Linked DNA regions of Homo sapiens: all the other regions are linked to region 3. Evidence: promoter capture Hi-C in 16 types of primary human blood cells and fetal thymus (Javierre and others, 2016). All regions are on one chromosome and are shown on one strand. Each heading gives the region's core, a stretch centred on a gene start or on the middle of the fragment in contact. The rest is flanking DNA. Distances are from core to core; before and after follow the strand shown. Region 1 holds the start of LOC100506444 (a long non-coding RNA gene). Region 2 overlaps FIP1L1 (factor interacting with PAPOLA and CPSF1). Region 3 holds the start of PDGFRA (platelet derived growth factor receptor alpha). Region 4 overlaps LOC100506444 (a long non-coding RNA gene). Region 5 overlaps LNX1 (ligand of numb-protein X 1). Region 6 overlaps FIP1L1 (factor interacting with PAPOLA and CPSF1). Region 7 overlaps FIP1L1 (factor interacting with PAPOLA and CPSF1).

Region 1 (4,064 bases), core at 1,565-4,064, 530 kb before region 3:
CTTTTGCTTACACTGTTCCCTCTACTTGAGTGCTTTTCTCTCTTTTTAAAGCCTGACCAAGTACTACTTATTCTTTAAGCACAAAATCACCTCTTCCCAATTTCTGAAAGCAAAGAGGATTCACCCTCTGTGTTCTCAAAAAACCATACCTGGTTAGTATTTTTATGGTTGTTGTTGTTTTACCTGAATGTCTTATTCAGTCACTTATTTATTCAAAAAATAAGTATATTCTTATTGAGCAACTACTATATGCTAGGCACTATCCTAGGCACTAGGGATACAGTTGGATACAAAACAGGTAAAACATTTGCTTTCAAGAAGCAAAGGGATGGTCTGGCATGGTGGCTTATGTCTGTAGTCCCAGCACTTTGGGCAGCTGAGGTGGGCAGATCATCTGAGGATAGGAGTTCGAGACCAGCCTGGCCAACATGGTGAAATTCTGTCTCTACTAAAGATACAAAAATTAGCTGGGCATGGTGGCATGCGCTTGTAATCCCAGCTACTTGGGAGGCTGAGGCAGAGAATCGCTTGAACCTGGGAGGTGGAGGTTACAGTGAGCAGAGATTGCGCCACTGTACTGCAGCCTGGGAGACAGAGCGAGACTCTATCTCAAAAAAAAAAAAAAAAAAAAAAGAAGCAAAAGAAGCAAAGAAGCAAAGCGGAGTCAGACAGTGAAAAATAATTAAAATACACAATGATTAGATGATGCTAAGTGCAATGAAATACAATAATTCAGAGACGGAGCACATGGAGGCTCCCACATGGGTGGAAGCTGTCATACTGACTAGGGCACTGGGGAAGGCTTCACTGGAATGACATTTGAGTTAAATCCCGAGCAGGTGAGGAGCATCTGGGGATGAGTATTCTCGGCCAAAAATATAGCAAATGAAGAACCATTGATGTGGGAGTGGGCTTGGCCTGATTTAGCAAAAGCACAAAGGCCACTGTGCTTGGAGCAGAGAGAACAAGGGAAAGAGAAGCATAAGATGGGGTCAGAGAGTAGCAATGGAAACCTTGAGTTTGTGGCATGAGTGAGGTGGGGCGTGTTGGAGGATACTGAGCAGAAAGGGGTGTGGGCTCACGCATGTTTAAACAGCATCCTGTGTCCTGAAGAGAAGGGTGAATGCAGGGAGACCAGGGAGGAGGCTCCTGCCATAGGCCAGGCAAAGTACTATAGCGGCTCGGGCCAGGATGGTTGTCCTTATTAGACTTGAGTGACTTGAAATCTGGGACTAGATCCCATTTATGTTTTAACCTCCAGCATCCAGCACAGTGCACCACACACAACACAATAGGTGCTCAAAGGCACTGAATAAACAAATAAGGCACGTTGTCTCAGCAAGCAGCTACAGCTTCTGAAGTCAGCACTGTTTGTTTTTCTAGGGCCATGTCTTAGTCTGCTTTGTGTTGCTATAAAAGAATGTCTGAGACTGGGTAATTTATAAAGAGAAGAAGTTTACCTAGCCCTTGGTTCTGCAGGCTGAGAAGTGCTAGGCCATGGCCCTGGCTTTCCACAAGGGGTGTCATGCTACTTTACAACCTGGCGAACAACAGTAAGGAGAAGCAGACATGAGGAAGAGGGAGAAACCTGAGGGATGTCCTGGCTTTGTAACAACACCCTCTTGAGGAACTAATCTATTTCTGGGAGAACTAATCCAGTCTTGAGAGAGTGAGAACTCACTCACAAACATGAGAACAGCACCAAGCCATTCATAAGGGATCCACCCCCATGGCACAAATACCTTCCACTAGCTCCCAACCCCCGACGCTGCCACAGTAGGGATCAAATCTCAACATGAGCTTTGGTGGCAACAAACGAACCATATCCAAACCATTGCAGGAGAGATTTTGTGACATTTTGTTTCCAGTAGGCAAGCTTCATCTTCTGTGTTTCCTAATTGAATGGCCCTTAGGCCACATTCTGAGGACAGCGTGGGTGTTTGCATGAGGGCCAACACAATCAAAACTTGATGATTGTGAAATTGTTTTTCTTTAAATTACCTTTGGACATTTGAAAAATGTGTTTCAAAAAATAAGTAAAAACCACCCATTCTCCAAGGCGGGCTGCCTTAGCTAATTGAGTGCCTCAAGACCCCAGGTGCATCCTAGAACGCTGTCCAAACCTGTCTGAAACCCAAATCAAGTCTTTGATGGTCAATGTCTGTCTTTCTAGTTCTAATTTAAAGATAAAAAAATACCTGTAATCCCAGCACTTTGGGAGGCTGAGGTGGGCAGATCACTTGAGGCCAAGAGTTCGAGACCAGCCTAGCTAACATGAAGAAACCCTGTCTCTACTAAAAATACAGAAAATCTAGCCAGGCATGGTGGTGCACGACTGTAGTTTCAGCTACTTGGGAGGCTGAGGCAGGAGAATCGCTTGAACCCAAGAGGTGGGGCTGCAGTGAGCCAAGATCTCAAGACTCCGTCTCAAAAAAATAAAAAAATAAATCTTCATTAAAAAAAATCCAAATCAACATTTGGATAAGGTAATTTGAGAAGGATTTATTAGCATGTGAATTTATGTATTTATTTATTTATTTTTAAGAAAGAGAAATGTACAGAGAGATGGCGGGAGAGCAGTCTGGTAGCAGTTCTTTAAACTCTCTGTAAAGCTGGATGGTTATATGATTTCTCAGAGTTGCTGCAGGGCTTTGATGAGATAATATCACTAAAATGCCTTGGACCAAGCCTACCATAGAGTGACACTCAAGAAATGTTAGTCCCAGCATTTTCCCTTAACAATTGCCTCTTCCCCTAACAATTCTCTCAGCTGTTTGCCAGGGATCTGAATGTCCTGGGTCCACCAGGCTTCTCAGTCTGACAAGATCACTTTTCTCATCTGGTAACCTCAAGGCTACAAGATGAGTTTTACGGGCCCTTTCCTTCATAATGTGATATCAATTTTTACATGATTTTTGATATAACTTTAAATTCTTCAACATTGTATTTAATTTTTATTTTAGACAAAGTCTAAATTTTCTTAGACCTTGAAAATTTCATTTTTTTAGATGTGAGCAATAATGCAAAATTTTTTAACCCTAAAGTTTTGTTGTTTTCCTTCTTGATTTTAAAATAAACTCACACATTTTTGTGGGTCCCTAAGAGTACCATGGACCCTGGGCACTGCGTCTAATGAGAAATAATGGAAAGAGAAACAAAAATGTGAAGAACAAAGTCCAGCAACTCAAAGTTGCTCAAGGAAGGGATATTGCTTCTGTGGGAAGTTTTACTCGTCCCTCAAATGGGTTTTCCTGGCTCTTTGACTCTTCAATCCCTTCCAGAGGACAATAATAAGATTTGTTCTTTGAAACTGAAGGAAAACCATAAACGGTTGGTGACTGGGTTGGTGAACATTAGCTAATGTGAAACAGAGCACAGGACTTGTCTAACAAGGAATTTGCATATTCTCATCCACGTAGCCTGGTGTAGGTTCTGCCTGGGGCCATGGGTAATGAATGCCTGCACAGCCTCTCCAGACTGTCAAGGGAGCCACTTGCACCCAAAACCTAACCTCAGGGGCCTCCAGGCAGATCAGGAGAGCAGGTCATTCACCACTCACGAGGACAAAACGAACTGACTCAGCCTTCTTTTGGGGGTAGGGGATTGATTCCTGGACCATTAGGGAGTGTTTAAAAGAGATTAATTGGCCACTGGTGGGACCACTCCAGTCACTTTCCAGGCAAGACAGGGCTACCTTCAGCATCTCTAGTGAAAGTGGTGAATTAGCACTTCAGAAGTGAGATGGCATGGACAGAAGCTTCTGGGGCTGAGCTCACCATTGGAAGCTTCTTTCCAGCTTCCTGAAGGTCTCTGGAGGTCTCTTCTTACCGGGGAGGATGATCCCTGGTGGCTCCCTGCTGACATTCTTCAAAACTCGGCTATTTCCCCAGTGTCCTGCTGATAAAACAGAAGAGGAAATGATGAAAGTAGGTTGCTCTATTATTAACTCATCTTTTAATTTCAGTTCGTTTGTTTTAGTATGTTTCTTGATGCTAGGCATGACACCCATTCATTCATTCATTTATTCATTAAACAAATGTTTATCAATGATATGTGACATTCTA
Region 2 (3,840 bases), core at 879-3,378, 770 kb before region 3:
AGGCTGTTTGAATCTTGAAATAAAATATTGTTGAGTACACTTTTCTAGGTTGAAATTTTTTTCTCAACACTTTTTTTTTTTCTTTTTTTGAGATAGTCTCACTCTGTCGCCCAGGCTAGAGTGCAGTGACATGATCTCTGTTCACTGTAACCTCCGCCTCCCGGGTTCAAGTGATTCTCCTGCCTTAGCCTCCCAAATAGCCGGGATTACCGGCATGCACCACCATGCCCGGCAAATTTTTATATTTTTAATAGAGACGGGGTTTCACCATGTTGACCAGGCTGGTCTCAAACTCCTAGCCTCAAGTTATCTGCCCGCCTTGGCTTCCCAAAGCGTTGGGATTACAGGCGTAAGCCATCGCGCCTGGCCTCCTCTCAACACTTTGAAGATGTCCCAGTGTATTCTGGTTTCCATTTTTTATATTGGGAAGTTTGTGGTCAACCTAATTCTGATTCCTGTTCACCTTGTATAATGAAGGGTCTTTATATGTTAGGTTTTTAAGATTTGTTTCTGGATCTTCCCGATACTGTGGGTATTCATTCACCATGTGATATTTCTCTTTTCTATTTATAAAATGAATTTCTATTATAATCTCATGACACATTTTTGGTGGGCATTTTGTTTTTTTAAAGTACCATAACGTTTGTTTTTAATCGTGTTTTTTCTTTAGTTGCCTTTCCCCATCTTCCTGGTTCTGCTCCTTCGTGGCCTAGTCTTGTGGACACCAGCAAGCAGTGGGACTATTATGCCAGAAGAGAGAAAGACCGAGATAGAGAGAGAGACAGAGACAGAGAGCGAGACCGTGATCGGGACAGAGAAAGAGAACGCACCAGAGAGAGAGAGAGGGAGCGTGATCACAGTCCTACACCAAGTGTTTTCAACAGGTTTGTTGGGTGTGCAGGAGTTTATACTATGTATTTTATAAGCACTTACAAATTTATTTTCGTTATGAGGAAGTGAATTTCAGTTCACTTGGAAAAGAGATGCTCAGGGAGTACATAGGAAAGCCATCTTAAAATGATAAAGGATTAGAGGCTTCCCATTACCTTGAACAGTAGTCCTTAAATTTGTTTGTTTACTTATCTCTTAAAAGAATTTTCTACCCCTTCATTTATTTTTATCTTGCCATCTAAGTTTTTCATCTTAAGCTTAAATTAGTTGACCATATAGATATTTCCAGTGTATTATAAATATTAATATTTAAAAAGAAAATTATCACCACTTCTATTATTATTCTATTTTTAGAGACGGTCTTGCTTTGTCATCCAGGCTGGCTGGAGTTCAGTGGCATGATCATAGCTCACTGCACTCTTACATTGGAAGAAGATGCCATCTAAGACTTTCAGAGCTAGAGAAGAGAACTCAGTGCCTGGCTTCAGAGTTTGAAAGGACAGGCTGACTCTCTTGTTTCCCAATGCATTGTTCCCTAACGTAGGAAGTCCTGGGCTCAAGTGATCCTCCTGGCCTAGCCTCTCAAGTAGCTAAGACTACAGTCATGCATCACCATGCTTGGCTGATTTTTAAAATTTTTTGTAGAGTCAGGATCTTGCTGTGTTGCCCAGGCTCACTCTCTTAAAATATATCCAGTGGATTAAAAACACTATAGTGATTTTCCAAAATTATCCATTTTTTAAAGAAAATGTACAAATAGTCTCTCTTTAAGAATTGGAAATTTTACATTTCTTTTTGTATTCAAATTTTTACTTCTGTACCACTTCCCTCAAAGAATTTTGTTCTAATGTAAAAGTTTCATAATCTTAAAACTTTTTAAGTGGGTTTTCCTATTAGTCTTTCCTGCAACACACTTATGTGTTAAGTTTTAATGTTTAAGGAAATTTTTCTTGTATGTGTTTTAAAAAATTTTCATCCTGATTTTAGTTATTTATATTCTGTCAGTGCAAACCACATGTACAACAGTGGTCTCATAAGATTACAATACTGTTTTTACTGTATCTTTTGTTTAGATACACAAACACCATTGTGTTAAAATTTTCTACAGAATTCAGTGCAGTAATATGCTGTACAGATTTGAAGCCCAGGAGCAATAGGCTATAACATATCACCTAGTGTATAATAGGCTGTACCATCAAAGTTTGTGTAAGTACACTCTGTGGTGTTTGCACAACAATGAAATCACCTAATAATGCATTTCTCAGAACATATCCCTGTCATTAACTGACACTTGACTGTATACATATACCGCAAATTTTGAAAATAATGTAATGGAATTGCATCCTTTAATGAGAAGGAGGAGCTTTCCACCATCCCCAGTGAGTATTACTATTGTTAGGAAAAAACAGAGTTTGTTCAGAATGCTTAAAATATTCAGTAAACCATCCTGTAAACAGATGTGCTGCCATTCAGGCTTTGGTGTTCCATTGATAGAGCACAGGCAGAGTCGATTTACCATAATTCTAAGTCGATTTACCATAATTCTAAGGACTCCAGGATTTTCAGGGTGGTAAATGGGCACCAACTTCAACTTAAAAACACCAGCTACATTAAGGAACAATGCATTAGGAAACAAGAGAGTGAGCCTGTCCTTTGAAACTTTGAAGCCAGGCATTGCCTTCTCCTCTCTAGCTATGAAAGTCTTGATGGCATCTTCTTCCAGTATAAGGCTATTTGGTCTACATTAAAAATGTGTTGCTTAGTGGAGCTACCTTCATCAGTGATTTTAGCTAGATCTTCTGGATAGCTTGGTGTAGCTTCTACATCAGCAGTTACTGCTTCACCTTGTACTTTTATGTTATATAGATAGTGTCTTTCCTTAATCCTTACAAACCAACTAACCTCTGCTAGCTTCCATTTCTTCTGCAGCTCCCTCACCTATCTCTGTCTTCATAAAATTGAAAAGAATTGGGCTTTGCTCTGGATTAGGCTTTGGTTTAAGGGAATGTTGTGTGGCTGGTTTGTTCTTCTATCCAGACACTAAAACTTTCTCCATATCAGCAATAATGCTGTTTTCATTTTCTTAACCATTCATGTGTTCACTGGAGTAGCACTTTTAATTTTCTTCAATAGCTTTTTCTTTGGCTTGACAACTTGTCTGTTTGGCACATGAGGGCTAGACTTCAGCCTATCATTACTTTTGACATGCCTTCCTCTTCAAGCTTCCTCATTTTTTAAAAGCTTAATCATTTTTAGCTTTTGATTTAAAATGAGAGATGTGCAATTCTTCCTTTCACTTGAAGGCGTAGAGGCCATTGTAGGGTTATTAATTGGCCTCATTTCAACATTATTGTTTCTCAGGGAATAGGGAGACCCAAGGAGAGGAAAGAGATGACCTGAACAGTGGATCGGTCAAGAACATGTACATTTATTAAGTTTGTTGACTTACCTGGATGCGGCTTATGGTACCCCTAAACAGTTACACTAGTGCCTCAAACTAGATCCTGTTCAGAGATATTATAACAAATTACTGAGTTTATTTTGGTGCAAAAAAAATTGATATCGATGCATAATTTTTTCATAGTATGCATTTTCCGTGAACTTTTTGAAGACCTCTCATATTGTCAAGCTGTCTAGGACTGGTCGGTAGCTTAAAACTTTACCAAAAAAAAATGCACAAGAAGGAACTGATGAGGATTTACTCATCTTTTTTCCGTCCTTTGGCTCCTGCTAATATGACTTATACATTGTAGGCACTTAATAAAATTTTATTGACCAAGTAAGTAAACACTATGACACATGCGTGTGTGTGCATGAGTATATGATTTGTGTTTGCTTGGTGGGAAATGTGCTGTTGACTTTAGCCAATTGGAAATGTGCTGTTGACTTTAGCCAATTAAGTGCATGATTCTTCTAAGTTCAAGGGCATTACTTTCCAGAAAGTCAAAT
Region 3 (4,253 bases), core at 786-3,285:
ACATGGAAACCTTTAGCAAATGTTTGTTAATGATCATAACAAAGGCATCATTCAAATTAGGCAGGTAATTACTACCAGAAGGACAACTGGGTGCTCGCTTGCTCATCCATTGCTTTCTGCTTTAAACTCCCGAGGAGTCGCTGCCTGGAGACACTCCCGCCCGGACTGCTTCTCGGGCCCCATTAAACGGCTCTGAAATGAACTGTGAAGTTACCATTTGTGGGCGGAGAGCGCTGGGGCCCTGCGGACGGAAGACCCTGGCTTGACCGGACTAACAGTGTCGCCGAAGCAAAGCAGCCCCTCTGGGTAGGCTGTCTGTCTCGCCTCCTACCCTCTGGGGCAACTAGCCTAAAAACCCGGTTCTCAACTTAACAGCATGTGGCCCAGCACCCGCTTTTGCCTTTTATTCCGCACTCTGATTTTTGGGGGGATCGTTTGTTCCCGCTCATTTTCTACAAACATTACGGTATCCTGTTAGCATTCCGAACAAGGGGCTGTTCATATATTTGCCTTCAATGATTTCCTGAAGGGACATGTGGAAGTAATAGCGAGCGGTGCAGTCACCCAAGCTGAAGATGCACGAGAGCGGGTCGCGTAGAAGAACTGCGGCAATGGGACCCCCAGCGCAGCCCCAGGCGCCCTGTTTTCGAGGCTGACATCCCAAGATCCTGTCCTGGTTAGGCACAGCACCGCGCCCGTTGGAGTACTTCTCTGTGACTCTCCCCTGTCCACTGCACTGTGTCCACCCTCCTGGTGAAGGAGGAGACGGCTGTTGGACATGCCAGTCCCAACCTGGCCACTTTGGCCATTTTCAGAGTGCGTGTGTTGGGGTGGGGTTGAGGGAGAAGGATGAAGGATGACCCCCAACCCCAACAGGAGAATTCAAAAATCAGAGAGCGATGAAGGTGAACGCGCTCCCCTCCCCCGCTGTCGCTGGGAAGCCCCACTCTGCCCAGGTCTGGTTCCTGGAGCATCAGCGCCCCCTTTCCCTCGCCGGCAGGATCGTTTCCTCCCGACACTGGCCTCTCGCCTTGGGCGCAGGGTTTGGGGCTCAGCTGTCAATTCCAAGGAATTCGTAGGGTTCGACCCACGCGGCGGGAGGGAACGGAGGGAGAATCAAAAGGCATCCTCCCCCACGACGCGGAGGCGGTGGTACGATTCCTCAAACGCCCAAGCTTGAGCTTTTTTTGTATGCGAGATAGAAGCCAGGGCAACCTCGCCCAGATAACCCCGAAAACAAAGGCACGACCAGATAAGTGACTTCAAGGGAGTAAAGGTCGTTCTATCGGAGAACGTTCCAAACCTACACAGACCCTCTTTTCTTTGTACCGTATTTCAGACCACCCAGTCTTGTACACACACACACACCACACAAAACAAAAACCCATCATTGTCATATTGGACTCAACAGTTTGCCCAATCCTATTAAATAACTAGCAACTATATAGCCCTTCCCCTAAAAGACCCCTAGTTCAAAACGGCGCAACCGCTTGGAGATTTCTCCCGAGGGCCCTATTTCTCGTTGGGCCGAGTTTGTAGAAGGGACATTTCTTGATTCTAGATTTATATTCTCTCTGGGTATTAAATGCAATTTTGTATGTTCCTTTTCTTCTTTTCAAAGAGAATACAAAACTATAGCAGTCTAAGAAAATAACCCCAAAATGGGGAGGCAAACTCATTCTGGAAATGATGGGCTGTTTGTAGTTTCACAAAACCTCTTTCCCGGCAGAGCACCAACACCTCCCCCTTCCACCACCCCCCATCCCATCTGGTCTGCTTCTCCCCGCCCCCCAGTTGTTGTCGAAGTCTGGGGGTTGGGACTGGACCCCCTGATTGCGTAAGAGCAAAAAGCGAAGGCGCAATCTGGACACTGGGAGATTCGGAGCGCAGGGAGTTTGAGAGAAACTTTTATTTTGAAGAGACCAAGGTTGAGGGGGGGCTTATTTCCTGACAGCTATTTACTTAGAGCAAATGATTAGTTTTAGAAGGATGGACTATAACATTGAATCAATTACAAAACGCGGTTTTTGAGCCCATTACTGTTGGAGCTACAGGGAGAGAAACAGAGGAGGAGACTGCAAGAGATCATTGGAGGCCGTGGGCACGCTCTTTACTCCATGTGTGGGACATTCATTGCGGAATAACATCGGAGGAGAAGGTAAGGGAAAAGAAAAAATGATTTTTTGTTTATAAGGGAAGTCCCTGATCAGACTCTGGGACTGGAGAAAGCGAAGTAACTTCAAACTTTGGGCGACAAGAAAAAAAAAAAGGAGCTGGATTCCAGTTGTGTGTCCAGAGAGTAATTTTTTTTTTTCGGAATAAACTTCACTTGGGGACGGGTGGGAGATAACCATAGAGTTAGAAAGTCTAGGTATTTTTTTTAAACACACATTTTCCAGACCTATTTTTAAAAACAATGTTTTTCTAACAACCCTATGGCCTCCCAAAGAAATTGTTTAGGCTTACATTTTTGAGGTTTCTTTTGGGAGTGGGGGTGGTGTTCGTGAATACTGGGCCGAACACCAAGGAACTGGGGGTGGAGGCAGAGGTGTTTGCCCTCTTCTTGGCAGTGGGTCCTGGAAGGCGACAGGTTTTAAATGAGTGTTTTCATTCCTCGCCTGCGGTTTGGCGGGACAGCGCTGCAGCCCATGGTGTGGAGCGCGGCTGGGGGACCAGGGGGAGGTGGGGAGAGGGGAGCGTGGAGGGGAGCGTGGAGGGGGGCGCGCGAAGGGGTTGCGGGGCGCAGGAGGCGGGCTGGGCTCGGCTGGAGACCGGACCTCGGTGTTGGCCTACAGCACAGGGAGCCGGCCGAATGCGCGTGATTACTGGACGGCGCTGCTCTGGGAGAGAGTCGGGGCCAGATTTGGCGCGGCGGTGAGGCGGCTGCGGGACAAGCAGAGGCGCGCGGGCGTGGGCAAGGGTTTGGGGCGCTCTGGAGCGGTTTGTTGGGTCAGTGAGGTGCCAGGGAGAGCGGGTGCCTGCCGGGCAGTGTGCTCGGGTTGCACGCCCTAGCGCGGGGGCGACAGCGGCGGCGCGGGCGGGCGGTCTGGAATAATGACAAACACATTTGGCCCTGAGTGAAGAAGTCGTCGTCGCCTCGCATTCCAGCAACTGGGATTTGAGGAATTTCGAACCGCACACCAAGGGGCCCTCATTGTGCTCCGTGGCCCCCGCCCCCGCCTGTCTTCCCGCGCCCCCTCCTCGGTGGAATCATTTCTGCATTGCCCGGGGGCTCTGCTTTCGCTCAGTTCTGGCCGCAGGCAGGAAGAGAGGAAAGGTCTCCAGGAAGGTGCCGAACTTCTTGTGAGGAAGTTAGGGACGACTTGGAACTGGGGAAACTTGTTTGCAGGTAAGACAGAAAGGTGGGAGGTAAACCATATTCTCCCTCCGGGCACCCGAGCCCTGGACACCCCCTACCCGGCACCCTTCTCCGCGCGGGGGTGCGTGGCACTTGCCGTCTGAGCTCGCCCAGCGCTGCTCGGTCCTCTCTAGTTGGCCTTTTTTCCATTCCTCTCCCTGCCGGCTTCAGAGCCGTCTGTGCGTACTTCTCCTTCCTCTGCTGTCTACCCCCATGGAAACCAGATTTACACACGAAATTAACTCCGCCCGGCTGCGCCCAGGGAGCGGGCGGCGTCCATTTGGCATTGAATATGTGGGATCAGCTGTTCTATTCCGGGAGGGTGTCGGCCAGGTCGGAGCGACGAGTGTGGCCCAACCCGAGTACGTTGCCAGAGGGAGCCAGGAGCCTGGGCCGGGCCAGGTGTGCGAGAGCTGCCGATGGCCTGGCCTCGCGTCTTGGTCGGGAAGGACTTGCTGGCCTGGCAGGCTGTGCGTTGTGCATCCCTCCCGCAGCCAGAGCGCCGGTCCCGCACTTCGCTCCCCGAATTGTGCTAAGACCTCAGGATGTGCGCAAGGAGTGCCTGGAAGAACTTGCCACTCACTCCATCTTCCTGGGTGGGAGGCAAGCATGGATGGGGCCCATATCAGGTCCCTACCGCCCCGCGTCCGAAAAGCCGCGGGCTGGGCGGTGTGGGAAATGGCTTTTTGGCTCCGAGGCCAAATTGCTCAATGTTTTGGACCGACTCGCCTCGCCGCGGTCGCTCCTGACAAGAACTAGACAGATTTTTGGAGCAGGGAGCATCCAGGGCAAACGCACGACAGTCCTCCGCAGTGCATCTCACCGGACAAACATCCCCGGAGCCACAGGAGGGGAGGAAGGGGCTCTCCGGGCGTGCGCACCTCCCCAGCCGCCG
Region 4 (3,726 bases), core at 781-3,280, 520 kb before region 3:
CTGGGACTTACTACATGCCAAACACTCTGCCAAGTGCTTTGTTTTTTTTTTCAGCTATAAATATTTTTTGTTTCTATAGCATTTAAGAGAAGCCTATAAAAAGTTGTTGTTAAATCAAATTTAAGAAAATTTTACATGGAAATTTTACTGAATCCTCATAGGATCCATAAGAGGTTGGTACTCACATTCCCATTTAACAAGTGAGGAAACACAGGCTTAGAGAGGTTAAGTAATTTGCCTCACACCTTGAATTCAGCAGAGTGGGGTTTCAGGTGTGCTTTCGTCTGACTCCGGCACTGAGTAAGCACTGTGCTTACTTCTGTGATAGTGAAGGTCACAGAAAAGCCGGGCTCAGCCTGAGACAAAGGCTACTGCTGCCAGAAACAGCAGGAAAGACGGTGAGAGCCAGGCTGATGAACAGGCCTCCCTTTAACTCAAGTTCAAAATCACAGTGGGATGAAAATCTGAGCATTTGAGGTTGGTTGGCTTCATTTTAACCATGTGCCTAAAAATTTGTCATCATTTAAAGACCATTTCCTCTGCACCTGCATCCAAAATGCATCCAGGGTCCAGTGTTTTAAGGAAGAATTACTCAGATGCTCTGTTTTGCTTCTTCACAATCCATGCATTCCACTTCTAATCACGTCGAATTTGTGGAGATAATGGCCTCGAGGGATTGGGAGGATGAAAATCAGGAGAAGTGAAGCTGATTTCTCCTTGACCATGTGGCTTCTTGAAATTTCAGGGTAGGCATTAAAAGAAGTGGTTGGTCGAGATTAAAGACTGAACTGTGCATCTTAGCTGTAATTTATGTCATTTCATCTGGGAGAAACATAAAAATCAACAGCTTTTAATGAATCTCTGCTTGGATGTTTTGTCACTCCTCAAAGAGTCTTTAGAAACACATTGAATCCCATGCCCAGATTATTAGGATTGAACCTTGCTGTGAGGGTATAGTGATGAGCAACATGGCTCTTATATTTCTCCAATGTTTGTCAAGACCAGTTTTTGTGAAAAAATGATTTATTAATTATTATATTAATAATCTGATGTATTAGCCCATCAATGAGTGACCTAGACAGGGATGTCGGTGGCATTCCAAGTGTCAGCCAGACACCCCACGCTTTCTATTTGCCCATCCGGTATGCTGGGTGCTACAGCTCTGGGGTCATTCTCCTTAGAGATCTTGGAATTCTTGAGGCCTTACATTTCTAGCTGCCACTCACTTCTCCTCAGCTTGCAGACATGGCCATGCTGCATTTCACTGACCCATTGCATACGAGTCCAGCCCCTGGGGAATTGCCTTAACTCTCAAGCATCTTAGGAATACACTTTTTCCTGTTTTAAAGAAGACCCTGGAAAGGGCAACAAAAACAGAACTCATCTCTAAGAATGCTGGCAGTGGATCCTGGAGGTTAACATCACAAGCTTTGGAGTCAAGCAGGCCTGGATTGAAATCCTTCCTCAATCACTTACTAGCTGTTTGGCCTTGGATGAGTTACTTGACTTCTCTATAAACGTCAATTCCCCGTCTGTAAAATGGATATAATTGTATATGTCTCGTTCTACTGTTGTGAGGATGGAGTGAGATTATGCATGGAAAGCACTTCAGCATTGAGAAGCACTCCAAATATGATAACTGTTAGTGTTATCAGAAGAGAAATTCAACATATCAGCAAAAACTCCCATCTACAATCTTAAAAACATTGTTAAGTGAAAGAAGCCAGACACAAAAGGCCACATGTTGTATAATCCCTTATATATGAATGTCAAGAGTAGGCAAATCTCTAGGGACAGAAAATAGATTAGCAATTGCCTAAGGCTGGAGAGTTGGAGGGGAATGGGGAGTGACTGCTAGTGGTTATGGTGTTTCTTTTAGGAGTGATTGCAATGTTCTGGAAATAGATAACAGTGATGGTTGTACAAATTTGTGAATACACTAAAAACCACTGAATTGTACACTTTTAAAGAATGTGTTTTATATATGTGAATTATATCTTTTAAAAAGTTATATTTAAAAAAGAACTATGTACGATGCAGCTAAAACCAGAGACTTTTTAAAGCTAATTTGTTTCCTGGAATCTCTCTACCTCTCCAAGCCTGGAAGAAGGATTAACTGTCATCTCACTGGAAGACTGTGTCTCTTTCTAGGTAAATCATTTGTTATATGATGACTGCACAGTAAATGTCAACCCATTGCAATTTTGGCATTTGTGGGGATCAGTAACATGCAGTTCTCTTGGCATTCTACGAGGGACTGCTAAACAGCCTGGATTTATGAGCATGAAGAGCCAGCCTACCATGCCTAAATCAGAGCTTCTCTGCATCTTGGTTCATTTGGCAGATGTTCCAGGTGATAAGTGAGATGTTTTCCTCCATTTAAAGTGAAAAAACCGAGGCAAGGAACAGAAAAAAAGAGTCTATTGGATTAACTGTGACTCTTTTGATGTATCATAGCCATTGGTTCTAACTGAAGGTGTGTGTGTGTGTGTGTGCACGTGTGTGTGTGTGTATGTGTTGGGGGAATGAGTAGGGTAGCTTTGCTAAAAGGGAAGAGGGAAGGAGATGTAGATGAGTCAGTGCCTACTGCAAAACTGGAGTGGATTAATTCTGGAATTTCATTGAGCATATTCAAAGCTTCCAAAGTATAATTTTAAAAACGTGTTTTCAGATTCACATCTCAGACAGAGTTGTCAGCGCTGCTTAGGAACAATTTCTTTTGGTGTGAGTAAGGTTACAAGATTTTGATAAAAATATTATTTCTTCATGTTTGGAATGTCTAAACAGATTTGTGGTTTTTCATTTTGCTTTAAAACATGATTAAATGTGCTTTAAAAAAATCAAAGCCTTCTGTCTGGGTTTTGAATCTCTTCCAGATTTATAGCTGCTTAATATTATATATGTCATGCCGATTTTCTTTTGGTTCAATCATGTCAATTGAGATTCTTTCAAAGAAAAAAAGGCTTATTAAAAAAGGAATTGTTTGTCCACCACATTAAGACTTTAAGAAATTTATCAAGATATTGATCAAGAACATTTTATTTTTAAAATTCTTTGCTGGAGCTGCTAGGCGGAGTAGATACCCAGAAGGAGAAGCTGAGGGAGATCTCAGGGCAGGCAGAGAATCAAAGTGAAAGTCAATTTGAGTAAGTTTTCCTTGGGCTAGCGTGCACACACTGGACTCTTTAATTACCTTTGTTTTTATGGAGAATGTACTCTCCAATGGGACTTAGTTGAGAGTGAAGGTAGTACATGTTGTGCTCTGTACTAAGAATCTTTGAGAGACTAAGCAGGAGAAGAGAAAATGCTCCCATATAGATGACCTGAACACTTAACAAGCAGTAAATAACAACAGCTACACGTATTGTCCATTTACTATGTTCTTGCACTCAGCTGGGAATTTCATTATTTTCCATAAAGCCCAATGATATTAGTGTGATTGTATCCATTTTAGAGATGAAGAAACTGATGGTCTAGAAGGTTAAATAACTGGGCCCAAGGTCAAGTAAGGGCATGGTTTATCTAAACTTTGAATCAGATCTGTTTGGTTCTTGCTTTTGACTACATCAAAAACCTGACAGATGGTCTTGCAATTGGAAACTGGGTTAATATCCTACTTCTAAAATCTTCTACTGCTTAGTTTCCCTATTCTTAGAGGAGGTCTTTTTTTGGAAGCCTAGTAAACTGCTCCTCCTAATGCCTTTCACTCATGAGTGATGCAGCTGC
Region 5 (4,098 bases), core at 408-2,907, 750 kb before region 3:
ACTCCTTATTGTAGAGAAACAGGTAATTTATGGATTTATGAGGCTTGGCTGGCTGGAGAACCTGGAGGGGTGTATAACCTTGTAGGCTATGTAATTAACATAGTATAAAGCAGAGATGTTCCAAAATAAAAAATTTGAATATTGTTTCTCTATATATTACTCAAAAACTCAATTTGTAAGCTATTCCAACCAACATATAGATTGACGTAGAAAGAAAAGGGCATTCCCTACTTTCTGTTGCAAGAAGAATGAGCTACCTTTAAGAATTTTTTTTAGTTACAAGTGATGCCATGAAACCAGAACTCAGGAGAGATGACTGAAAGAAGCTCATCAGCATCACAACAGGATGCCAAGCCAAAGCTATAGGACTCTTAATTTGGACTAAACAAGGTTTGTGTTGCTTAAACACGCATCCAAATGAAGAGGTTAAGGCATTGCCTCTAATAGAAGCCACAGAGAGAAGTACAAATTGGGCTGAGTCACTTCATTTAAAGTGAGGCTGCAAACTGGTGGCCTGAAGAATGAATTCCACCCACAGATCCACAGTGTTTTAGAGTTTTCTGGATTTGAATGCCATATAACATGTGCTCTCTGGTTTGCCCCAATCCCCACCACTCCCTAATGTTACATGAGCTTCAAGTGTTTAAATTATCTTCCTGGGCCCTTCGGCAAACACAAACAAAAACTAAAAGTAGCGGGGAAATCACTCATTTCTAGGCAGACTGAAAAATTCAAAAGCCAGAAACCAGGCAAACTGCTTGCTTCATTTCAAAGTGAATAAAATAAGTCCTCAAACAAGATGACTCTTGGTAAAAACATGCCATTTATTTGGCTTAGGCTAGAAATCAGGTCCCTGTATGAGGTCTGCATGATCAGGTTTCAAAACTTTCCTGCACCTTCTTCTCTCCTGCTTGGATGGGAGACACCTGTTATCTCTCCAAGTCTTAAATATGGGACTTTGGGCTTTTAGTTTTACAAGTCAAAGTGTTTCTTTAAGTAAAAAAGTCCAGAGATGACACTTAGACATGTTAAAACAAGCAGCCTTCCCAAGAAATAGCCCCTTGCAGGAGCAGGCGACCTGCCCTAGAGGCCTCACCTTGGGAGTGTTGCTCCTCTCCCCTGGCCCTGGGGACCAGCTGCCATTGCTGTTCCAGCCGGCTTCCTGAAAGATGTCAGGGCTCCGCTGCCGAACCTGGCGGGACACGACGAGGTGAACACGTCTTTCACTGGCCTGGGCAAGAAGACACAGGCATTAGCCACTGTCAGTTTCCATCCACTGCATTCAGCACCAGGAGCTTACAAAAACATCACTTTGATTATACCATTTTTTTATGGCAAAACATGATTTCTAGTTTGTTGGGTTTTTTTGTTACTATCCATCTTGTAATTTGCCAAGAGCATGAGAGCTCTTTCCTTTATCCTTAAACCAGGTAGTAAATGTTGCTCCAAGGGAAAACTAGGGAAGGTTTGGTTCCTTCCAATCTTTGAAAAGGCATCATCAGATATTGCTAATTCATTTTTAATTAATGGTTGTACCACACACAAGCCATGCCCTAAGTTCTTCCCAGATAGAATTAGGTGCACTGTGTAAAGTAGCAGCCCAAAGCAAAGATCTAAGATCAATGGTACACAGTAAAGAAAAAGAGATGGAGTTAATGGCAGTAACTTGCCACTGCAGGAAGAGAAATCCTGAGCCTGACACTTGCAAATATTTGGGCATAGGAAAGGTTTAGCACTTTAGAAATATGGGGATGACTTCATACATTAATATGTACAACCTAATCAAAATCCTTTACCTTCAATTCACAATCACAAAGACATGGAATCAACTTAAGTGCCCATCAACTGATAGGTAGATAAAGAAAATGTGGTATGTATATACCATGGAATACTACTCAGCCACAAAAAAGAATGAAAAAATGTCTTTTGCAGCAACTTGGATGGAACTGGAGGCCATTATTTTAAGTGAAGTAACAGAGGAATGGAAAATCAAATACTGCATGTTCTCACTTGTAAGTGGGAGCTTAGCTCTGGAGATGCAGAGGCAGAGTAATATAATGGACTTTGGAGACTCAGAAAAGGGGAGGGTGAGTGGGGTGAGGGATGAAAAACTGCCTATTTGGTACAGTGTACACTATTCAGGTGACAGGTGCACTAAAATCTCAGACTTCACCACCATACAATGCATCCATGTAACCAAAAACCACGTGTATTCCTAAAGCTATTGAAATACAAAATGTTTAAAAAACTGCAAAAGAGTAATTTGCCTTGATTTCTTTATTTTTTATGGAACTACCAGTTACTCTGCTAATTCTCTCTGCTATGTACATTGATATTTGGACAGGCATTCAGAATAGCAAATATAGTACTTATTGGAAAGGTCCACTCCACATCATCGATATGGTTTGACTGTGTCCCCAGTCAAACTTCACCTTGAATTGTAGCTCCCATAATTCCCATATGTCATCGGAGGGACCTGGCAGGAGGTAACTGATTCATGGGGGTGGGTCTTTCCCATGCTGTTCTCGAGATAGTAAGTCTCACGAGATCTGATGATTTTATAAATGGGAGTTCCCCTGCACAGGCTCTCTTGTCTGCCACCATGTAAGACATCCCTTTGCTCTTCCTTCATCTTCCACCATGACTGAGAGGCCTCCCCAGCCATGTAAAACTGTGAGTTCATTAAACCTTTATAAATGACCCATTCTCGGGTATGTCTTTAATAGCAGCATGAGAGCAGACAAATACAATGATACATTTACAAATTGTCTTTCTGCCACAGATTAGTTTCACATGTGTCAGGTAGTATGGGCCATTATTCCAGAATTGCTGACCATTGAGATTTCAGAGCTGCAGGTCATTCAGACTAAATCTTAGACCTATGAAACTCACATAAATAGAGCTCTCTGGTGGCCTAGGCTGAAGTAGCCAGCTGACCTCATTTATCACTTTAGTAAAAGTTGAAAATGAATGAGATATGGAAGATTTGATTAGAAAGATTCCCAAGACAGACCTGGTTTAGGGACAAGGGAGATGGAAGAGAGAGGAGTAAGGTTTGGTGGTTCCTCTCTTCATCCCATCCCTTGCCCACTCACCACCACAACAGAGAAGGGGCAGTGACCTGCCAGCTTTCTTCCTATACAGGGATGGTTATTGGGCTAGGGGAGAAAGGTCATGAAATGAGGGCATTGAAATTCCATGCTCTTTTGCATTGACTCAGACAATGGTGGTGGAGATATTTTCTTCCTGCCTGCTATGGTCTGAACATGTTTCCCCAAAATTCAGATGTTAAAATCCTAACCCACAACACGGCAGCATTTGGAGGTAGGGCCTTTGGGAGGTGATTAGGTCATGAAGGCAGGTCCCTCCTAAGGGGATTACAGCCCTTATGAAAGGGGCTGGAGGAATCTTGTTTGCCCCTCTACCATGTAAGGACAAAGTGAGATGGTGCCATCTGTGAGGAAGTAGCCATCCCCAGACACCAAACCGGCTAGTGTCTTGATCTTTGACTTCTTGACCTCCAGAACTGTGAGAAATAAATTTATGTTGTTTACAAGCCACCTAGGATAGTGTATTTTGTTATAGCAGCATGAATGGACTAAGACAATGCCTTTTCTGCATCTTCATTCCCAGAGCACACAACTCACTCACTCTCAGGAACTAGGACCTTGTTTTAAAAATCTCAAGTAAACACTTTGGGAGGCTGAGGCAGGCAGATCACTTGAGGTCAGGAGTCCAAGACCAGCCTGGCCAACATGGTGAAACCCTTTCTCTACTAAAAATACAAAAATCAGCCAGTCGTGGTGGCAGGCACCTATAATCCCAGCTACTCGGGAGGCTGCAGGAGGAGAATTGCTTGAACCCAGAGGGTGGAGGTTGCAGCGAACCGAGATTGTGGCACTGCACTCAAGCCTGGGTGAGAAAGCAAGACTCCATCTCAAAAAAAGAAAAAAAAAATCTTTAGTAAAAACCATCCACCAATGAAACAATATCCCTATGGTTGTCTGACACTAACCAGTCCAAATCTTCATGACTTTGCACTCTTATAACACTTCTTCTCAGGGCTCTCTTGAAACTTAGGGGTCATGATTTGGGTGG
Region 6 (4,242 bases), core at 321-2,820, 810 kb before region 3:
GGTCTCTAAATAAATAAATAAATACATAAATAACAGTTATTATATTTGAAGTTGTGGCCTTATCATATGCTAGTTACTATTAATTTGTATAATACAGTGTTTTCCCGATTTTAACAGTATTCTTCAAGCCAAATCTGTAAGTGTTTTTCAAACTTTAACAGTATTCTTCAAGCTAAATCTATATGTATAACAGTGGCATTTTATTGGTGTAAGTTTGCTTTATAAAATCAAATTTTTAACTCTTGTGAAACTAATTAGAAGAGTGAAGCAGTTTCAGTGAGTGCAGGAAATTGAAACTGGTAATATGGATGATTGCTGTAAACATATCCTAATGCACAGTTTATTTTTTTATTTTGTTTCCATTTTATGTTACCAAGTTCTGTTCCTCTTAATTTTCAAGTGATAGTTTATTTTTCTTAAGCTTATGTTCCTATATTACAATGCTTTTTAACTGATTCATACTCTTGAATGAATAGTAAAAATTGCTTTTCAATGTTAAATCACGAATACATTTAAACATGCATGTATTTCTTCTATTAAACACAATACTTATAATAAAACTGGACGTTAAATGAATATTATATCTAAGAATGACCTCTTCCTCTGACTATCTCCTTTTATGTCTTGATGAGACACTGTACTGAAAAGATGTGCCCATACCTTGGGGCATTTGATCAAGTGCTCTGAATGCATGTTGCTATAGTGTGTAGTTTGTAAGATTTTATGTTATTGGACATATGAAGGCCTTTGGGGTTTTTTGTTTGTTTTTTTAAGATTCTTGTAGAGCTGTGTCTTTTCCTATCATTGATACATTTAAAAGCATGAAATTAAGCATAAATATGGAAGGTAGAGCTTTATTCCAAGCTCTGTACAAAAGTGAGTAAACTTGTTTGCACTTTTGAACACACTTATGTCCTCCAGTGAGTGAAATTTGGGCTTATTTCACCTTTAAACATTCAAGGTTTTTTTGTTTTGTTTTAAATAGAGCTTAAAAATTGACATTTAAAAAATTCAGACCCCAGAAAATTAGTATGATAAACACTGTTGAAGAAGAAGGGAAGGGGTTTGAAGTTGGTTATGCTAAGCCTGAATCCTAGTGCTGCCACTTTACAATGCAAAAGAGCCTCTTTCCACATCTGTGAAAATGAAACTAATTGGATATGTACTTTACTTTTTATTTTTTCAAGACAGAGTCTCACTCTGTTTCCCAGGTTGAGTGTAGTGGTGGGATCATAGCTCCCTGCAAACTCGAACTACCAGGCTCAAGCAGTCCTCCCATCTCAGCCTCCCGAGTAGCTGGGACTACAGGCATGCCCACCATGCTCGGCTAATTTTTTATTTTTTGTAGAGATGAGGTCTCACTATGTTGCTCAGGCTGATCTTGATCTCCTGAACTCAAGTGATTCTCCTGCCTCGGCCTACTCCCAAATCACACCTGAGATTACAGGTGTGAGCCACTATGCCGGCCCCATATACCTTAAATGTGATGTACTTGTAAGGATTAAATAAATTCTAAGCTGTGAAAGCACCTATTTCAGGGCTTGAAAGATAAATCAGCCAGGCGCAATGGCTCACGCCTATAATCCCAGAACTTTGGGAGGCTGAGGTGGGCGGATCACCTGAGGTCGGGAGTTCAAGACCAGCCTGACCAGGCCAGGCGCGGTGGCTCACGCCTGTAATCCCAGCACTTTGGGAGGCCGAGGCGGGTGGATCACGAGGTCAGGAGATCGAGACCACGGTGCAACCCCGTCTCTACTAAAAATACAATAAAAATTAGCCGGGCGCGGTGGCGAGCGCCTGTAGTCCCAGCTACTCAGGAGGCTGAGGCAGGAGAATGGCGTGAACCCGGGAGGCGGAGCTTGCAGTGAGCTGAGATCGCGCCACTGCACTCCAGCCTGGACGACAGAGGAAGACTCCGTCTCAAAAAAAAAAAAAAAAAAAAAAAAAAAACCAGCCTGACCAACATGGAGAAACCCTGTCTCTACTAAAAAAAAAATTAAAAAAAAAATAGCTGGGCGTGGTAGCATGCGTCCGTAATCCCAGCTCGGGAGGCTGAGGCAGGAGAATTGCTTGAATCCAGGAGGCAGAGGTTGTGGTGAGCTGAGATCGTGCCATTGCACTCCAACCTGGGCAACAAGAGTGAAACTCCATCTCAAAAAAAAAAAAAAAAAAAGATAAATCAGACACTCAGTGAGTGTCGGATCTCCTCTTTCATCATGGGCTTTATCAGTCTCTTTAAATGTAGTACTGATAGAAAATAAATTGTATGTCCAGAAAAGTGTTTTGAATTCTGTGATTTTTATTTTAGACTAGGTTCTTTTTCTGGGCGGGATTTTTCATTAATAAATTGTTACTCGAACATTAGAATATATTTTCTTTATAAATTGTGTATATACTGTAGAGAAAATTATTCTTGTGCTTGTGGAAGTAAAACGTACACACAGGTATAGAAACAGTACCATTTCAGACCAGTCATGTTGCCCGGGCTGATCTCGAATTCCTGGGCTCAAGTACCACAAAACTAAAAGATCTGTAGAAAAATATGTAATCAATGATATTCTTATGTTGATGGATATGACTTTAAATTTTTCTTGAAATAAATATTAATTTTTTATGAGCTACTTTAAGTTCTTTCTGGAGGGAACAAAATGTCTAGCAGTCTCTTGAACATGCCCTTAGATTTGTAGTCTTCAACTTTGACCATATTGGAATTACCTAGGAAGCTTCAAAAAAGTATTGATGCTGGGTCCCAGAAATGTAATTTTAAATAGTCTGGTGTACACCCTGTGCATCAGGATTTTGATATGCAGGCAAGGTTGAGAACCACTGATTTAGAGCCTTGATTCTGGGTTGGCATAAAGATTAAAATCAAATGATAGCTAGGCACCTACGGTTTTGAAGTAAAATGATAGATGTAGTTACAATGGGAGCTGATATTTGTATAGCATTTTACAGCCTCACAGTCTTTTTCTTTATGTGCTTCTCATTTAATTTACATTTTCTGCCTCTTTGAATGTCTTTTGGTTGGTAACCACTATCAAAGGTGCATGATACTTCTGTTGCAAGCAAATGGATAGGTAATATATTTGCCACGTAGAAATTGTGCACATATCTACCCCTCTCCATCTTTTCTCTATGCTCATAGTTGTCCCTCCATCTGAAATGTTCTATCTTCCCATCCTACATGTCTTTTAAGGCTCATCTCTTTCCTAACGTAGCTTAAAAGATGCTACACAATTTCCATGCAGAACTGTTTACAGCCATCTATTTACATATGTGACCTGAATTAAATGTCATAACAAGTGCATCTCTTTTCAAGTTGGGAATATGAGATAGCCACATTCTAGGCTTTTTCTTAGCAAATGGACCTTTGAACTGTTTGCTGCCCAGTTCTTATTAGAAGCCCTTCTGTGAGAAAACATTCATAGATGTCTACATTGATATGTGATTCACCCATTCTTTTAGAATATGGTTATAAACTTTCAAGCAATAATTCAAGCAATATTTCAAGCAAAATAATTTGAAAATTTGCTATAAACTCTGGACTTTTGCCTGGAAATTGCATCTATACATATCTATTTATTTAGAAATCAGGGACGTCCTGATTCTTCTTTAGAGAACCATGTTGCTAGTTAAGAACCTGAACTGTTCTCAAAAGCACAGTTACATTATTAGATCAAGCCTAACCATTAAGAGGGCTAGATACACAGACCACGTTGTTTTGCTTCCCCTGATTAAATTGCTCTTATTGAATTGGGCATTGTTGTGCTTCACTCAGCATTAAAGGGCATTTTGAGAAATAGCTCTTTAAAATTCAATTTTTTTTGGTAGGAATTTTGGAGACTTTATTTCCATATTTTTGAAAACATGAGATTGCAATCCATTAGTGGGTTGTGAAACAATTTGGTGGTCCCAACCAGTATTTCTTGGTTTTGTATTGTTTCTTTTGCTTTTTTCCTATGCTATATTTAAATATTAATAAAATTACATTTTATCTTAGTGTCACCATTTTTCCTTTTTTAAGTATTGTTTCATGAATCTTTTTTAGTTTTTAATGTATTGTGGGTACTGGATTGCTGTGTAAAGTGTACTTCTTACTGTGTTTTGTAGTCAATAAAGTTTAAAAACTATTGTACTCATATTTTCTCTTAGACTCAGAGGAGAATCTTTTTCTGTTTATTCTCATTTGTAAAATGACAATAATGAGAGTTGCTACCTTATGGGTTTATCATGAAGACTAAA
Region 7 (4,284 bases), core at 60-2,559, 790 kb before region 3:
TAAAAAAGAACTCAAAGTTTTTGAAAACTGTATTTATTCTTGTGTTTTTCTATATTCAATTTAAAAAGCCTGCCTATCAGTGTTTTCATTAAATTCAAAACAGAGAGCAATGCTAATTATCTATAATAAATAGAATTTTCTGGCACAATTAAAATTTATTTAAATGTAAATTTAATAGAGATTAAAAGCTTTCTTAGGATGTTGATTTTTGAATGTGCTTTCTCCTCCAGGATGCACCCTTTATAATAGTTACATTTTGAATACATCATTGACACCACATTTTGTTGAATCTAATTACAGTTTAATTTGTGCCTTCTGCTTACACTGCTCTTTTGATCGTCTCATGATTATATGGAAGCTGGTAGAGATCATTTCTTTACAAGTTCTCTATTAAAAAACATAGGTATTTCTATCAAAAATGTTTTGTGTAAGATAGAAGTTTATCTTCTGTAGGCTTTAGATTTTATAAAATAGAAGAGTAACAGATCCTAATAAAGGTAACATAGTTTGTCCATTTTATAGTGTATGTAAAATTACCTTTTTTACCTTTTAGACATGAAGTATGCTGGTAAATTTTTGGTTACTTTGTTGTGTGACCGTACCACTTTTTAACCCTTTTTTCTTTTCTTAAAAATAACTTAAAACTTTTTTTGCACCTTGTAATTGTTTTAATTATGAAATAATGGTTTTGCCATATTCTTTCTACATTCTGGTTTGTATTTAAGGGTGGATGGTAGATGAGATGATACACGTGTGTGTGCGTATGTTTTTGTTTGTGTTGAATTTTTAAAATCCTGATACATAGAAACGCATTTCTGGTAGAAGGTGATATTTAAAGATTTTTGTAAACCTTGTCCTTTTCTACTCATTTTGAGTAAAACTTCTGAGCTTGATGGCTTTGAAATACAAGTCATGAGACTTAAGGAAAGTGATCAAGTTTATCTGTTTCTTAAATAATAGTGCCGACGGAACTTGGAATTTACTAGTGAGAAATAGGAAGCGTAGTTTACATATTCTGCCATTTTTTTTCTTTCATGTGAATTTGAATAGAGAAAAGATAGATGGTTATTGCATGTATTGGGTTTCTACTGCCGTATAACAAGTTACTCCAGAATGTAGTGGCTTAAAACAACATACATTTATTATTGAACAGTTTTCATGGGTCAGGAATCTGGGACAGCTTAGCTGGATCCTCTGCTTTAAGGTCTCTCTCAGACCTCACAGTCTTCTCCAAAAGCCTGACTAAGGAAGTATTTGTCTCCAAGCTCACTCACCTCTTTGTTAAAAGGATTTTGTTTTTTTCTAGGCTGTTGCATTGACAGGGCTTCAGTTCCTCACTGGTGTAGGCGTCTTAATATGTTAGCTTGCTTAATCAAAGCATGTAAGCCAAGAAGGCAACAGAGAGGGTGCCAGTGAAATAGAAATAACTGTCTTTTGTAACCTAGTCATGGAAGTAACATCCTTTGATTTTTTTTGTGTGTGGTAGAAATAAGTCACAATGTCCAGCCCCCACACAGGACATAAATACCAGCAGACAGGGATCATTGAGAGCCATGTCAGAAGCTATTTTGCCTTAGTTATATAAAATTATGATAGACTACATTGAGAATGAGTTTATAGACAATCTGTTTAGTTTTTTTGTGAGTGCAAAGCCCACTATTAATTTTGTGGGAATTTTTAGTATGGGTAAATTCTTTTTAATATGATGTTTAACAGGAATGCTGCCTTTCTGTTTCTTTGCCTCAGTTCTTTCAATCTCCAAAATAGGATTTCAGGTCTTACCCCCACCCACTTTTACATTTAAGTGTATGTGTTATATGCTGGAAAAATTAAGCTGGGTGTGGTGGCTCACTCCTGTAATCCCAGCACTTTGAGAGGCCAAGGCGGGTAGATTGCTTGAGTTCAGGAGTTCGAGACCAGCCTGGGCAACATGAAGAAACCCCATCTTTATAAAAAATGCAAAAATTAAGGCCAGGCATGGTTGCTCACACCTGTAATCACAGCACTTTGGGAGGCTGAGGCGGGTGGATCGCTTGAGCCCAGGAGTTTGAGACCAGCCTGGGCAACATAGCGAAACCCTGTCTCCACAAAAAATGCAAAAAATTAGCTGAGCATGGTGGTACACACCTGTAGTCCCAGCTACTTGGGAGGCTGAGGTGGGAGGATTGCTTTGAGCTGGGGAGGCAGAGGTTGCAGTGAGCCGTGGTCATGCCACTCACCCTACACAACAGTGTGAGACCCTGTCTCAACCAAAAAAAAAAAAAAAAAAAAAAAAAAAGAGAGAGAAATCATCTTCTCTTTTGAGAATGCCAGATGGTGTAGGCTCTCATAGTCCTTTTAAGTGTCATAGGTAGATGCTTTTGTTTCATAAAAATTCGGAATGGGATTTATTTAGTCTGTACTAAATTGCTCAGCAGTGAAATTAGGAGGGAAGCTTAGAATCGGATCCAGTGATCCTCATAGTATAGTCCTGGGCCAGCAACATCATCTGGGAAATTTAGGGGAATGTAGGTTTTCTGGTCCCACCCCAGACTTACTGAATCAGAAATTCTAGGGGAAGGGCCCAGCAATCTGTGTGTTTTAAGAGACTCTCCAGGTGATTCTCATGCATGTTCAAGGTAGTTTTTATTTATTTATTTATTTATTTATTATTTTATTTTATTTTTTTGAGATGGAGTCTCGCTCTGTTGCCCAGGCTGGAGTGCAGTGGCGCGACCTCGGCTCACTGCAACCTCCGCCTCCTGGGTTCAAACGATTCTCCAGCCTCAGCCTCCTGAGTAGCTGGGACTACAGGTGCATGCCACCATGCTTGGCTAATTTTTTGTATTTTTAGTAGAGACAGGGTTTCACCATGTTAGCCAAGATGGTCTCCATCTCCTGACTTTGTGATCTACCTGCCTTGGCCTCCGGAAGTACTGGGATTACGGGTGTGAGCCACCGCGCCCGGCCTATGTTCAAGTTTTAATACCACTAATCTGTTCAGTCTGTTAGAGCTTGAGTATTACTTTTCCAAAAGGTTTTGGCTGGCACTAGAAATCTACTTTTACTACTGTTACATACAGCTTTCCAGGAAAATCAACATTTTTTTAAACTCATTTTTCAGATAAAGGATATAGAAAAGAAACAAAATACTTTCCTTATTTAAGTCTGTTGTCTAGGTTAGGCAGCATGTGTTTGCCAGGAAGATGGAGGTGTTGGGAGGGGAAAGAAGAGGGACGTTTGAGATGAATTTTCTCTTCCCTTACACTGTTTCTCTTTTATTAAGAAAAGTCAAATACTAAATAGTGATTTTTAAGTGAGAATGATGTTGGCCTTACATGATATCACGTATCAGTTTGAAAATACATTCAGTAATTGTCAAAGAATTGGTTATATAGTGTTTCATCAACTTTATAGTCTTGTTTTAATGAACATTTACTTATAAAGATTTGCATTGAAATAACATCTTAGATGAAATGGAGGTCTCACAAGAAGGGCCCTTGCTAGTTGCCATGCCAACTTTCTGATGTGTAGGTATTGATTGGAAAGACCTATAAATGACATGGTTTTTTCTTTGATTATGTCTTTAATTCCAGTAGATTATTTTTGTCTGTCCTATGATACTGCTGTAGTAAGATTAACATTAAAGGCAGACAGTAATTTTAACTACCTTTGTAATGTACTTAATTCTTTGGTCATATGTCTTTTATCTCTACATTTTGTGGAAGTTTAACAACTTAAATGTTTTTGAGGACTAAAGTTTGAAGGGGCTGACTAGTAATTTTTTAGTTTTTAGCATGAATTTACATTTTAGTAAGCTGTAGTAAGCCTTAGCTAAAGTGATACATCCTGCTCACATAATCATTTAGGTAAAGTTATTAGGATTATAGTATATAGAATGGGTGGATGATTTTGGTATATTCCTTTATCTTATAAATCTTATCTTACAAATCTGTATCTTATAAATCTACGAAAATAATCATGTATTTACTTATGAAAACTAGATCAAATAGTGAAGTTAAGTAGTGTCCGTATTGTTCTAAAGAAAATTAGGTTGTAGTATATATTAAAAACATTTAATGATCTGCCTTCCTTACTTTTCTCATTTACTTTGGAGTCTGGGACTCTACTAGCTTGTATGGTTTGTTGGATTCTTTTAGTTTAGTAATTTGGGAAACAGGAAGGTAACCTCAGGATGGATGAGAATTGCCATTAGCTATGGGTCAGTTTAGTAGACTTGTGGATTCATAAAGATTTTTGAAACTTGATGGCTGCTTTATGTATCTTTAGTCTTGTTGGCTTTGT

The links. Contacts are between HindIII fragments. The CHiCAGO score rates a contact against its expected background, and 5 or more counts as called.
Region 1: a fragment that was not itself captured here is called in contact with the fragment with the promoter of PDGFRA in region 3 in 1 of 17 cell types (M2 macrophages); the score reaches 7.2 in M2 macrophages.
Region 2: a fragment that was not itself captured here is called in contact with the fragment with the promoter of PDGFRA in region 3 in 2 of 17 cell types (M2 macrophages and M0 macrophages); the score reaches 6.9 in M2 macrophages.
Region 4: a contact is called between a fragment that was not itself captured here and the fragment with the promoter of PDGFRA in region 3, in 1 of 17 cell types (M0 macrophages). The highest score is 5.4, in M0 macrophages.
Region 5: a fragment that was not itself captured here is called in contact with the fragment with the promoter of PDGFRA in region 3 in 1 of 17 cell types (M2 macrophages); the score reaches 5.1 in M2 macrophages.
Region 6: a contact is called between a fragment that was not itself captured here and the fragment with the promoter of PDGFRA in region 3, in 1 of 17 cell types (M0 macrophages). The highest score is 6.0, in M0 macrophages.
Region 7: a contact is called between a fragment that was not itself captured here and the fragment with the promoter of PDGFRA in region 3, in 1 of 17 cell types (M0 macrophages). The highest score is 5.5, in M0 macrophages.

The regions. Positions count from the first base shown.
Region 1 is chr4:53,692,243-53,696,306 of GRCh38, forward strand. It overlaps LOC100506444 (a long non-coding RNA gene), which reads left to right and starts at 3,659. Exons shown (of 3, transcript NR_125918.1): 1 at 3,659-3,926. The HindIII fragment of the contact is 1,881 bases long and covers 1,875-3,755 here.
Region 2 is chr4:53,452,250-53,456,089 of GRCh38, forward strand. It overlaps FIP1L1 (factor interacting with PAPOLA and CPSF1), which reads left to right. Exons shown (of 18, transcript NM_030917.4): 16 at 671-884. Among named protein-coding and RNA genes, the nearest start is that of LNX1-AS1, 46 kb to the right of the region's middle. The HindIII fragment of the contact is 1,965 bases long and covers 1,147-3,111 here.
Region 3 is chr4:54,227,258-54,231,510 of GRCh38, forward strand. PDGFRA (platelet derived growth factor receptor alpha) reads left to right here and starts at 2,036. Exons shown (of 23, transcript NM_006206.6): 1 at 2,036-2,158. RefSeq lists an enhancer at 509-1,334. The HindIII fragment of the contact is 8,996 bases long and covers 1,174-4,253 here.
Region 4 is chr4:53,712,203-53,715,928 of GRCh38, forward strand. All of the region lies in intron 1 of LOC100506444 (a long non-coding RNA gene), which reads left to right. Among named protein-coding and RNA genes, the nearest start is that of LNX1-AS2, 120 kb to the left of the region's middle. The HindIII fragment of the contact is 1,209 bases long and covers 1,427-2,635 here.
Region 5 is chr4:53,480,624-53,484,721 of GRCh38, forward strand. It overlaps LNX1 (ligand of numb-protein X 1), which reads right to left. Exons shown (of 11, transcript NM_001126328.3): 7 at 1,097-1,231. Among named protein-coding and RNA genes, the nearest start is that of LNX1-AS1, 17 kb to the right of the region's middle. The HindIII fragment of the contact is 5,424 bases long and covers 1-4,098 here.
Region 6 is chr4:53,418,276-53,422,517 of GRCh38, forward strand. The region is part of intron 11 of FIP1L1 (factor interacting with PAPOLA and CPSF1); the gene reads left to right. Among named protein-coding and RNA genes, the nearest start is that of FIP1L1, 43 kb to the left of the region's middle. The HindIII fragment of the contact is 2,302 bases long and covers 420-2,721 here.
Region 7 is chr4:53,435,076-53,439,359 of GRCh38, forward strand. All of the region lies in intron 13 of FIP1L1 (factor interacting with PAPOLA and CPSF1), which reads left to right. Among named protein-coding and RNA genes, the nearest start is that of FIP1L1, 60 kb to the left of the region's middle. The HindIII fragment of the contact is 2,246 bases long and covers 187-2,432 here.